Regions from separate parts of the Homo sapiens genome. Here regions 1, 2 and 4 are each linked to region 3. The links are contacts of gene promoters, found by promoter capture Hi-C in blood cells and fetal thymus (Javierre and others, 2016). All regions are on one chromosome and are shown on one strand. The core of a region is centred on a gene start or on the middle of the fragment in contact, and the rest is flanking DNA. Distances in the headings are between cores, read along the strand shown. Region 1 overlaps SLC6A16 (solute carrier family 6 member 16). Region 2 overlaps LOC107985340 (a long non-coding RNA gene). Region 3 holds the start of FLT3LG (fms related receptor tyrosine kinase 3 ligand). Region 4 overlaps SLC6A16 (solute carrier family 6 member 16).

What was found. Contacts are between HindIII fragments. The CHiCAGO score rates a contact against its expected background, and 5 or more counts as called.
Region 1: a contact is called between a fragment that was not itself captured here and the fragment with the promoter of FLT3LG in region 3, in 2 of 17 cell types (total B cells and naive B cells). The highest score is 8.7, in total B cells.
Region 2: a contact is called between a fragment that was not itself captured here and the fragment with the promoter of FLT3LG in region 3, in 1 of 17 cell types (naive B cells). The highest score is 5.3, in naive B cells.
Region 4: a contact is called between a fragment that was not itself captured here and the fragment with the promoter of FLT3LG in region 3, in 2 of 17 cell types (total B cells and naive B cells). The highest score is 6.0, in total B cells.

Annotation. Positions count from the first base shown.
Region 1 is chr19:49,314,288-49,316,987 of GRCh38, forward strand. All of the region lies in intron 1 of SLC6A16 (solute carrier family 6 member 16), which reads right to left. Among named protein-coding and RNA genes, the nearest start is that of MIR4324, 6.8 kb to the left of the region's middle. The HindIII fragment of the contact is 290 bases long and covers 1,294-1,583 here.
Region 2 is chr19:49,240,401-49,243,100 of GRCh38, forward strand. All of the region lies in intron 2 of LOC107985340 (a long non-coding RNA gene), which reads left to right. Among named protein-coding and RNA genes, the nearest start is that of MIR4324, 67 kb to the right of the region's middle. The HindIII fragment of the contact is 3,473 bases long and covers 1-2,700 here.
Region 3 is chr19:49,472,934-49,475,633 of GRCh38, forward strand. FLT3LG (fms related receptor tyrosine kinase 3 ligand) reads left to right here and starts at 1,282. Exons shown (of 9, transcript NM_001459.4): 1 at 1,282-1,348; 2 at 1,670-1,739. The coding sequence starts at 1,707. RefSeq lists a silencer at 1,661-1,740. The HindIII fragment of the contact is 13,906 bases long and covers 1-2,700 here.
Region 4 is chr19:49,288,439-49,291,138 of GRCh38, forward strand. SLC6A16 (solute carrier family 6 member 16) reads right to left here. Exons shown (of 12, transcript NM_014037.3): 11 at 2,167-2,329; 12 at 1,200-1,954. The coding sequence ends at 1,685. Among named protein-coding and RNA genes, the nearest start is that of MIR4324, 19 kb to the right of the region's middle. The HindIII fragment of the contact is 6,288 bases long and covers 1-2,700 here.

The DNA.
Region 1 (2,700 bases), core at 189-2,688, 160 kb before region 3:
CATGAATCCACAGGGATACAACTCAGGAAAAGGAAAACCTCTTCCTTATAGTAGAATACAAACTAATAAATGTACAAGGAACGATGAATTAGAAGGTCACTGCTTATCATAAACTAATCAAGTTGTACACATGAAATATGTACAGTTTTTTACTTGTCAATCATCCCTCAATAAATATGTCTTTTTAACAAATCATTGTTTGGAAATTACCAGAGTAATAACTGACACAAGCAAGAATCATCAATGGTTGCTAAAACAAGATGATGAAAATTTGATGGGGACAGGATAATTGCATAGTATTACTGTATCTCCCCACAAGATATTCCCCCCAAAAAAACCCAAGAAACTAGTATCTTTAGAGTATTACACACTACCTAAACCAATAATAGTCACCTGATATCATATAACTCCTGATACAATGCATTAAGAGCACAACATCATTTCTGTGGGATTCCTGCCAAAAACATGTAACAAAACTCCAATCGTGAGGAAACACCAGAAAACAAATCTAAATTGAAGTACATTCTGTAAAATAGCTGGCCTGTGCTCAGTAAAAATGTCACAGTCAATAAAGACAAGGAAAGATGGAAGTGTTGTAAGTCTGAAATTATGTCAAAATTTTGTTAAATTTTTTAAACTTCCAAGCACCTGCCACTCCTACAATTCACCATCAAAACAAAAGGAAGTTTCTTCTAAGATAGCCACATGAACACCAATCTCCAAACTTACCCACAATCTCCCCCTACCCAACAAAAAAAAAAACCAATGATTTTAAAATATTACAAATATGGGGATATCTGCATCATTTCTGAAAAATAGGTTCCATCCTCATGTCAAAAACAGAGAAACTTCTGCTACATAAACAAGAAACAGGACCAAACTGTAATCACTGAGGAGTCAGTTCACATCTCTTTTTCCTGATGAAGTGGTTCAGTGTTTCAGGAAGTAAGTAAATACTTTCCCAGCAACTTGTGGGAAATAAAAACAATCACTTGCCAAAGACCTTCTGCTCCAGTGAACCAACAGCTTCCAGAAGCTGTATGCCAGAGAATGCAACAGCAGGTGGGCCACTCCTCTGTTATTGGATTTATTGGAGTTATTGGTGGGTTGATGGGCGTCTCCCTGAGACAAATGATGCTTCCATAACATTAAGAGAGAAGCAGAAAATCATGCAGGGAAGAAAAGGCTGAAGAAAAAATTAGGTACAAAAATCCAGCCTTTGGGGCTGGTCATGGTGGCTCATGCCTGTAATCCCAGCCCTTTGGGAGGCTGAGGCAGGAGATGTTTTATGTAAGCTTCGTGGTAACTACAAAGCAAAAAACTCAGTAGAGATGATTCAAAGCATACCACTAGAGAAAATCAATATAATTAGTCACATTGATATAATAAAGAAGAAAAATATTATCATCTCAAGAGATATAGGAAAAACATACAATACAATGATGATTTACGGAGAAAAACTTTTAGCAAACCAGGAATAATTTCCCTAACCTGATAAATGGTGTCTCTCAAAAAAAAAAGATTATACTTAATAGTGAACATATGCTTAAACATAGGCACATATTTAATAATGAAGTGAAGAAAGCTTGCCTTTTGAAATCAAGAACAATCAATGAAACCAGCTATCAGCACTTCCTTCCCATTGCATTAAATATTTTAGACAACACAGGAAAGCAAGGGGAATAAAAGACAAAGATTAAACAAAACTCACTATTCACAGATGATATATCTATGTGGAAGATCCAGAATACTACAGATAAATTATTTAAATTAATAAGATAATTTAGCAAGATTGTTGGATGCAAACAGCAATAAATGAAAATTATTTATATGTCTATGCTTGCAATACATAATTAGAAAATAAAATTTTAAAATAATAATGCCACTTATAAAATAATTTTTTAAATATAGAGTAAAATCCTGGGAAGGTAATGGCAATAACAGCAACATTGTTTTAAAATCTTCCCAAATACTCACATGAAAACAAGTAGTTCTACTAGATTGCAAGCCCAAAATCCATGGATAATATTTACAATATCAAGATAAACCCCAAAAGACAAGTCTATGAGAACAAACCACAAGAGCCACAGACCTGTATAGAATCAGCATCTGTGTGGGAGGAAACAAAGGAAGCAAGAGAGCATCTGACAGACCTGGGGATGGGGGACAGGGAAACCAGTCTCTCAAAATAATCAACAGGTACTCACCAGAAATCATGGGAAGGCTATTAGAGAACAGCAGCTAAAACTAGAAGATGTCTTGCCTAATCCAATAACAGTTGAGTGCATGGAGTCAACAATAGAAACTGAAGGGACCAGGGCAGACTAGATTCTATGAACTCTTAAAATTAACCAACCAGGGATCTTTTCCAACCCAGAGGCCACAATGAGGAGAAATTCCTGTGAGTAAAGCCAAATTGAGCAATACAAGAACAAGAATGATGAAGGATAGGCCAGACACAGTGGCTCATGCCTGTAATCCTAGTACTTTGGGAGGCCAAGGCAGGAGGATCACTTGAGGCCAGGAATTCAAGATAAGCCTTGACAATGCAGTGAAAACCCATCTCTACCAAAAAAAAAAAAAAAAAATTAAAATTAAAATTAGCCAGGCATAGTGGGACACGCCAGTGGTCCCAGCTATTTGGGAGGCTAAGTGGAGAGGATCGCTTGAGCCCAGGAGTTCAAGGTTGCAGTGGGCTAT
Region 2 (2,700 bases), core at 122-2,621, 230 kb before region 3:
TTTGTAATTTTAATAGAGACAGGGTTTTGCAACGTTGGCCAGTCTGGCCTCGAACTCCTGATCTCAGGTGATCCTCTCGCCTCAGCCTCCCAAAGGGCTGGGATTACAGGCATGAGCCACCGTGCCCAGCCACCTTGCACTTTTCTTTACGGAGATGGCTACTTTCCTTAAACCTCATGAACCAACCTCTCCTGGCTTCAGGCTTTTCTTCTGCAGCTTCCTCCTCTCAGCCCTCATAGAACTGAAAAGTGTTAAGGCTTTGCTCTGGATTAGGCTTTGGCTTAAGGGTTTTACCTTCTGTCCAGACAACACTTTCTCCATATCGGTAATAAGGCTGTTTGACTTCTTATTTTTTATTGATTGATTGAGACAGAGTCTCGCTCTGTTGCCCAGGCTGGAGTGCAGTAGCACACAATCTCAGCTCGCTGCAACCTCCACCTCCCAGGTTCAAGCAATTCTCCTTCCTCAGCCTCCTGAGTAGCTGGGACTACAAGTGTGCGCTACCACACCAGCTAATTTTTGTATTTTTCGTAGAGATGGGGTTTCACCATGTTGGTCAGGCTGGTCTTGAACTCTTGTCCTCAAGTGATCCACCCGTCTCAGCCTCCCAAAGCACTGAGATTACAGGTGTGAGCCACTGCATGCGGCCACTCCTTAGTTTTGTGTTCACTGGAGTAGTACTTTTGATATCTTTCAACTTTTCCTTTGCATTCACAACTTAGCTAACTGGTGCAAGAAGCCTAGCTTTTGGCCTGTCTTATCTTTTGATGAGCCTTCCTCATAATCATTTCTAGCTTTTGATTTAAAGTGAGAGATGTGTGACTCTTCCTTTCACTTGAACACTGCGAGGCCATTGTAGGGTTATTAACTGACCTAATGTCAATATTGTGTGTCTCAGGGAATAGGTAGGCCCAAGGAGAGAAAGAGATGGGGGAATGGCCGGTGGGTGGAGAAGTCAGAACACACGCAACATTTATTAAGTTTGCCATTTTATATGGGCATAGTTTGTGGTGGCCCCAGTGACAATAGAAACATCAAAGGCCACTGATCACAGATCACCATCACAGATGGAAGAATAATAATGAGGCCGGTGCGGTGGTTCACGCCTGTAATCTCAGCACTTTGGGAGGCCAAGGCAGGTGGATCACAATGTCAGGAGTTCGAGACCAGCCTGGCCAACATGGTGAAACCCCGTCTGTACTAAAAATACAAAAATTAGCAGAGCATGGTGGTGGGCACCTGAAATCCCAGCTACTCGGGAGGCTGAGACAGGAGAATCGTTTGAACCCAGAGGCGGAGGTTGCAGTGAGCCAAGATCACAAAATTGCCCTGCAGCCAGGGCACAGGGTGAGACTCTGTCTCAAAAAAAATAATAATAATGAAAAGATTTAAAATTTTATTGTGAGAATTACCAAAATGCAGCCCAGAGACACACAGTGAGCGCATGCCGTTAGAAAAAAATGGTGCTGATAGACTTGCTCAATGCAGGGTTGCCACAAACCTTTGATTTGTTAAAAAAAAAAAAATGCAGTATCTGTGAAGCACAATAAAGCTAAGTGCAATAAAATGAAGAGTGCCCTATAAGAGCTTAGTCACCCTTCACCTCGAGTCCTTGATTGTGATATCTTACCGTGTTTCCTTTATCATCACCGCCTTTCACATTTATTATAACAATACCTATTATGTAGCAGACCCATTTGAGAGTAAGCTGTAGACATGATGCCCCTTTACTCCTAAATACTGCAGTGCGTATTTCCAGAACGGGGACATTCACCTGTGTAACCACAGTGCCATTGAAATCATGAAAGTAACATCGATCTACTTCTATTATCTACAGACCTTATTCGTTTTTCCCAATTATTCCAATATGCTTTTTTTTTTTTTTTTGAGTTGGAGTCTTGCTCTGTCACCCAGGCTGGAGTGCAGTGGCGTGATCTCAGCTCACCAGAACATCTGCCTCCTGGGTTCAAGTGACCCTCGTGCCTCAGCCTCCTGAGTAGCTGGGATGACAGGCATGCGCCACCAGGCCCGTCTAATTATTGTATTTTCTGTAGAGATGAGATTTTGCCATGTTGGCCAGGCTGGTCTCGAACTCCTGACCTCAAGTAATCCGCCTGCCTCTGCCTCCCAAAGTGCTGGGATTACAGATGTGAGGCACTGCGCCTGGCCTAGTCTGTTTTTCTTTTTTCTTTTTCTTTTTTTTGAGACAGTCTCTTGCTCTTGTCACCCAGGCTGGAGTGCAATGGTGTGATCTCAGCTCACTGCAACCTCTGCCTCCTGAGTTCAAGCAATTCTCCTGCCTCAGCCTCCTGAGTAGCTGGGATTACTGGCACCCACGACCACACCCGGCTAATTTGTGTATTTTTAGCAGAGATGCGGTTTCACCACATTGGCCAGGCTAGTCTCAAAGTCCTGACCTCGGGTGATCCCCCCACCTCGGCCTCCCAAAGTGCTGGGATTACGGGCGTGAGCCACCGTGCCCAGCCCCCTGTGAAGTATTAAGAAGGGCACTGGGGCTTCCTGTAGCACTTGGAACAGTGTTCTCAGTGCCCATACGTGTCACCACCCTAATCTCACACAAAAAAGACCTCAGGTGATCCGCCTGCCTCTGCCTCCCAAAGTGCTGGGATTACAGATGTGAGGCACTGCGCCTGGCCTAGTCTGTTTTTCTTTTTTGTTTTCTTTTTTTTTTTTCCACTG
Region 3 (2,700 bases), core at 32-2,531:
GGGCTTGTATCTCTGCCTCTCTGCTTCATTTAAATCTTTCTAGCCAGATGGAAGGTCTGACCATTGGGTGCGACAAGGCAGCTAACCCAGGCTGAACAGGAAGTGAGGCAGGCAGAGGGATCAGGGAAGGGAAATGGATGATGAAGGCCAGGACGGGCGAGGCTTTGCTGCAGTAACACATAACCCCCGAATCTGCGTGGGCCACAACCACAACATTAGTTTGTTGCTTACACTCCCTGTGCTCATCCGGGGCTGGCAGGATCCCTGTGCTCCTCCGAGTGGCACAGGAAACTTGGCTGATAGAGGCGCTCTCTCCATGCATCCTCCACCATCCACTCCCCGGTCCCTTAGACTTCCATTCAGAAGTGACACCTGTCACCTCCACCCTCATGTGACTGGCCAAAGTGAGTGTGGCCATGTCCGAGTTCCCCAGGATGGGACCTCGAATCCTCCTGCTGGGGGGGTGGGGGCAGCAGATGTTTCAGGACAGTCTGCCACGGATCAGATGGGTGAGCAAGAGATTCAGGATGGGCGTGATGGGTCACACCTGTAATCCCAGCATTTTGGGAGGCCGAGGCAGGCTGATCACCTGAGGTCAGGAGTTCGAGATCAGCCTGGCCAACATAGTGAAACCTCGTCTCTACTAAAAATACAAAAATTAGCCGGGCATGGTGGCACGCACCTGCAATTCCAGCTACTTGGGAGCCTGAGGCACAAGAATTGCTTAAGCCCAGGAGGCGGAGGTTGCCGTGAGCCGAGACTGTGCCACTGCACTCCAGCCTGGGCAACAGAGTGAGACCCCATCTAAAAAAAAAAAATGCTTCAGAGATTCAGAGATCCACAGATGTGGAAGAGAGCTTCTATTTTGTCTCATGTACCACCTCACCCCTCAGTTTGGAGTTGGAGAAGCCGAGGCTTAGAGAGGTCAAGGGGCTGGCCAAGCTCCCACAGTGATAAAGCTAGTGCTAGGGCGACACCTGCCAGGCCCAATGTGACAAGATGCATCCTGAGTCCTGTGTGCCAAGCCTTGGCGGGGCAAAGTTGGGGCCCGGAGGACGGTAAGACACAGCAACTGCGAGTTCCCAGAGACAGATCCGGGTTCCAGCCCCAGCTCACCATGCACTGGGCGTGCCACCCAGGGAGTCAGCCCCACTGCAGCCCCCGCTGCGGGGCGTCCGGAGAACGCGCCATCTGCGGCGTGAGCGGCCGCCTCTCACCACCAGGGGGCGCGCTCCGCCTGGGCCCAGATTCCACCCCTTGACTGTCTCCCCCCAAAAATTTCCTTTCACTTTCGGTCTCTGGCTGTCACCCGGCTTGGCCCCTTCCACACCCAACTGGGGCAAGCCTGGTGCGTGAGGAGACTTGGACTCTAGGTCCCCAAGGGGCGGAGCCAGGGTCCCCACTCCTGGGGCAGGGGGAGCAGAGGGTGGGGGGCTGGGTTCCCGGGTCCCTAACCTGGGGAGGGTTCTGGGGACCAGACGTCGAGGTTCTTAGAAGTGGAGATGAAGAGTTTTCACCGTAACTGGGGCAGACGCAGGAAGCCTGGGGGAGGAAGGGGCGGAAACTCAGCCACATCAATGGGACGCGGGAGGGGCGGGGAGGCAAAGGGGCGGGCAGGGCAGGGGCTGGGGCATGAGGGTCCGAGACTTGTTCTTCTGTCCCTTCCAAGACCCGGCGACAGGAGGCATGAGGGGCCCCCGGCCGAAATGACAGTGCTGGCGCCAGCCTGGAGCCCAACAGTGCGTAAACCCCAGGGACAAGATCAGGGGAGAGGGGAGGCACAATGTCAGGATGGGGCAGAGATGAGGGGAGATGGACGGGAGAACAGATGGACAGATGACGAGGAAATAGGAGGGGAGATGGACAGATGTGAGGGGAGATGGATAGGAGAGGAGACGGACAGAGGAGGGGGAGATGGACAGAGGATGGGGAGATGGACAGAGGAGGGGGAGATAGAGGAGAGGGAGATAGAGAGGAGTGGGAGATGGACAGGAGCGGGGAGATGGACAGAGGAGGGGGAGATGGACAGAGGAGAGGGCAGATGAACAGAGGAGAGGGAGATAAAGAGGAGGGAGGTGGACAGGAGGAGGGAGATGGACAGAGAAGGGGGAGATGGACAGAGGTGGGGGAGATGGACAGGAGGGAAGATGGAGAGGAGGGGGTATGGACAGAGGAGAGGGGAGATGGACAGGAGGGGGAGATGGACAGAGGAGAGGGAGATGAAGAGGAGGGGGAGGTGGACAGGAGGAGGGAGACGGACAGAGGAGAGGAAGAGAGACAGAGGAGGGGGGAGATGGACAGAGGAGGGGGAGATGGACAGAAAAGGGGGGAGATGGACAGAGGAGAGGGAAGGTGGACAGAGCCAAGAACAAATGAAGAGGACGTGGACCAAGATCAAGAGAGAAGCAGGCAACAGTGGTGTAGAAGGCAGAGGGAGGGACAGAGCTGGAGGAACCCGGGCGAGGAAACCAGACGTGAAGATGAGGTGGTTGGAGAGAGACCAGCAGAGTGGGGGAGATGGGGAGAGAGAGGGGTGGGGCAGAGGGGGATGCAAACTGGACAGCATTGGACCAGAGGCAGAGAGAAACCGGGAAAGACAGGCAGAGATGGGGCCATGTCTCCAGAAAGTGTGGAAGAGGCAGAAGGACACCCAGGGAAGGAGGAGCGGGGAAGACAGAACAGTACAGGTGGGAAGCCCGG
Region 4 (2,700 bases), core at 141-2,640, 180 kb before region 3:
TCCCCATGCAGTGTGCAGCCTAGGGACTTGGTGCCCTGTGTCCCAGCCACTCCAGCCATGGCTGAAAGGGGCCAACGTACAGCTCGGGCTGTGGCTTCAGAGAGTAGAAGCCCCAAGCCTTGGCAGCTTCCACGTGATGTTGAGCCTGCGGGTGCACAGAAGTCAAGAATTGAGGTTTGGGAACCTCCGCCTAGATCTCAGAAGATATATGGAAATGCATGGATGTCCAGGCAAAAGTTTTCTGTAGGGGCAGAGCCCTCATGCAGAACCTCTGCCAGGGAGGGAAATGCAGAAGGGAAACGTGGGGTCAGAGCCCTCACACAGAGTCAGAGTCCCTACTGGGGCACTGCCTAGTGGAGCTGTGAGAAGAGGGCCACTGTCCTCCAGACCCCAGAATGGTAGAACCACTGACAGCTTGCACCCTGAGCTTGGAAAAGCCACACTCAACACCAGCCCGTGAAAGCAGCTGGAAGGGGGACTGTACCCTGCAAAGCCACGAGGTGGAGCTGCCTAAGACCATGGGAACCCACCTTTTGCATCAGCATGACCTGGATGTGAGATCTGGAGTCAAAGGAGATCATTATGGAGCTTTAAAATTTGACTCCCCTGCTAGATTTTGGACTTGCATGGGCCCTGTAACCCCTTTGTTTTGGCCAATTTCTCTCATTTGGAATGGCTGTATTTACCTGATACCAGTACCCCCATTGTATCTAGGAAGTAACTAGCTTGTTTTTGATTTTACAGGCTCATAGGTGGAAGGGACTTGCCTTGTCTCAGATGACACTCTGGACTTTTGGATTAATGCTGAAATGAGTTGAGACATTGGGGGACTGTTGGGAAGGCATGATTGCTTTTGAAATGTGAGGACATGAGATTTGGAGGGGCCAGGGGCAGAATGATATGGTTTCACTGTGTCTCCATTTAAATATAAACTTCAATTATATCTCCCAGAATTCCCACGTGTTATGGGAGGGAACCAGGGGAGGTAATTGAATCATGGGGGCTGGTCTTTTCCATCCTAATCTCGTGATAGTGAATAAGTCTCATGAGATCTAATGGGTTTATCAGGGGTTTCCACTTTTGCTTCTTCCTCATTTTTTTCTCTTGCTGCCATCATGTAAGAAATGCCTTTCACCTCCCACCATGATTGAGGCCTCCCCAACCATGTGGAACTGTAAGTCCAGTTAAACCTCTTTTTGTTCCCAGTTTCAGGTATGTCTTTATTAGCAGTGTGAAAATGAACTAATACAGACTGGAAGCCTTGTGACAGGAAAACTGAACATCTGAGACATCTATAGGAAAAAAAGATCTGCTTACATCCAGTCCTTGGAGTTCCAGTAGACTGATTTATTCACCAACAGCATTGCTCCTCCAGCTCCATTCCAGGAGACAGGCACCCCAGAAGTAGCAGGACTGGTAGACATCACTAGTATTGTATATGTGTTGTGCATGTATGTGTGTTGAGGAAGAGGATGGGGAAAACAATGATGGTGGTCACCAGGTAAGATGGGACCCAGGAAGGGATTGCAAGTCCAGGCCCCATGAACACCCCCAAAGAATGCCCCTCCTCTTGGAAATAAAAGTGGTTCTGGATCCAGGGAGATCAACAGTTGCAAGCTGATATTAAGAGTTGTCTATTGGATCTGTTCTAAGGGATATGTTATGTGAAGCCAAATTAATGAAGTTAGGAAGTCACATTACAAGTTGATGGGTACTTTGTTTCATCAACTTGTAGAATTTCTTCCTTTTGAACCTCTTTACTGGGTGTTAGCTGGTGACTTAGGGGTAGGGATGTGGAGGCTGTCATAGGCCCGTCTCCGCTCTTGGGCCTGAAGGGAATCCTATGTATGCGGCAGTATACAAAGTATGCAGGGATGGGGAGGATGACAATGGCAAAAAGGGTGATCATCAAGAGCAGTGCCCACGGTGGGTATGGTCGAAGCACCTCTTTTGACTGTGGAGAGATGGGAAAAGGGTTCAGAATATCAAAATCCCCAAGAGAAAAGGAAGAGTTGTGGAGGGGAAGGATGGGTGGGGAACCAAAGCAGAAAACCCATGAGTCTTCGGGCAGTAAGAGAATGAGATGACTGGGTTCTTTCACCCAGAGTGAATTGAAAGGTCTGGCCCCTACTCCCAAAGGGGTTCTGGGTCCTGGGGGAGGCTCACGGTGCTTGAGTCCCAGGACATGTAGGTGATCGGCTTCATACAAAGATGAACCATCATGGTCACAAAGATGATTAGCAGCACAACTGGACACAGATGGGGCCACAGCCAACCAAAGATGGGAGAGATGGGGTGGCCCAACAGGATCGTCAGGTCTGCAAGGAACCTGGAGAAGGGCCACCAGAGTGTGGGATGCCCAGTTAGGCCTCACCACCTTGGAGGCAGGGCCAGCCCAACCTTGGCATCTTTCAAACATTCTATTGTATCTCTAATCTCCTGTTTCATCTCAAGTCTTGTCCTCTCTCATCTTCCCCCTAGTCAGTCTGTCTTCTATCCTAACCCAAGAAACTTTTCCAAACACCCCTCTCCTGCTCAAGAACTTTCCATGGGTATCCAATGGCCTCAGGAGAAAGGCCAAGTCTCTTTCATTCATCCCATAAATATGAGAATGTCTATGATGTGCCAGGAACTCTTCTAAGTGCTGGATATCCAGCAGTGAACAACACAGATAAAATAAAGTGGCATTTGGCCCTTGGT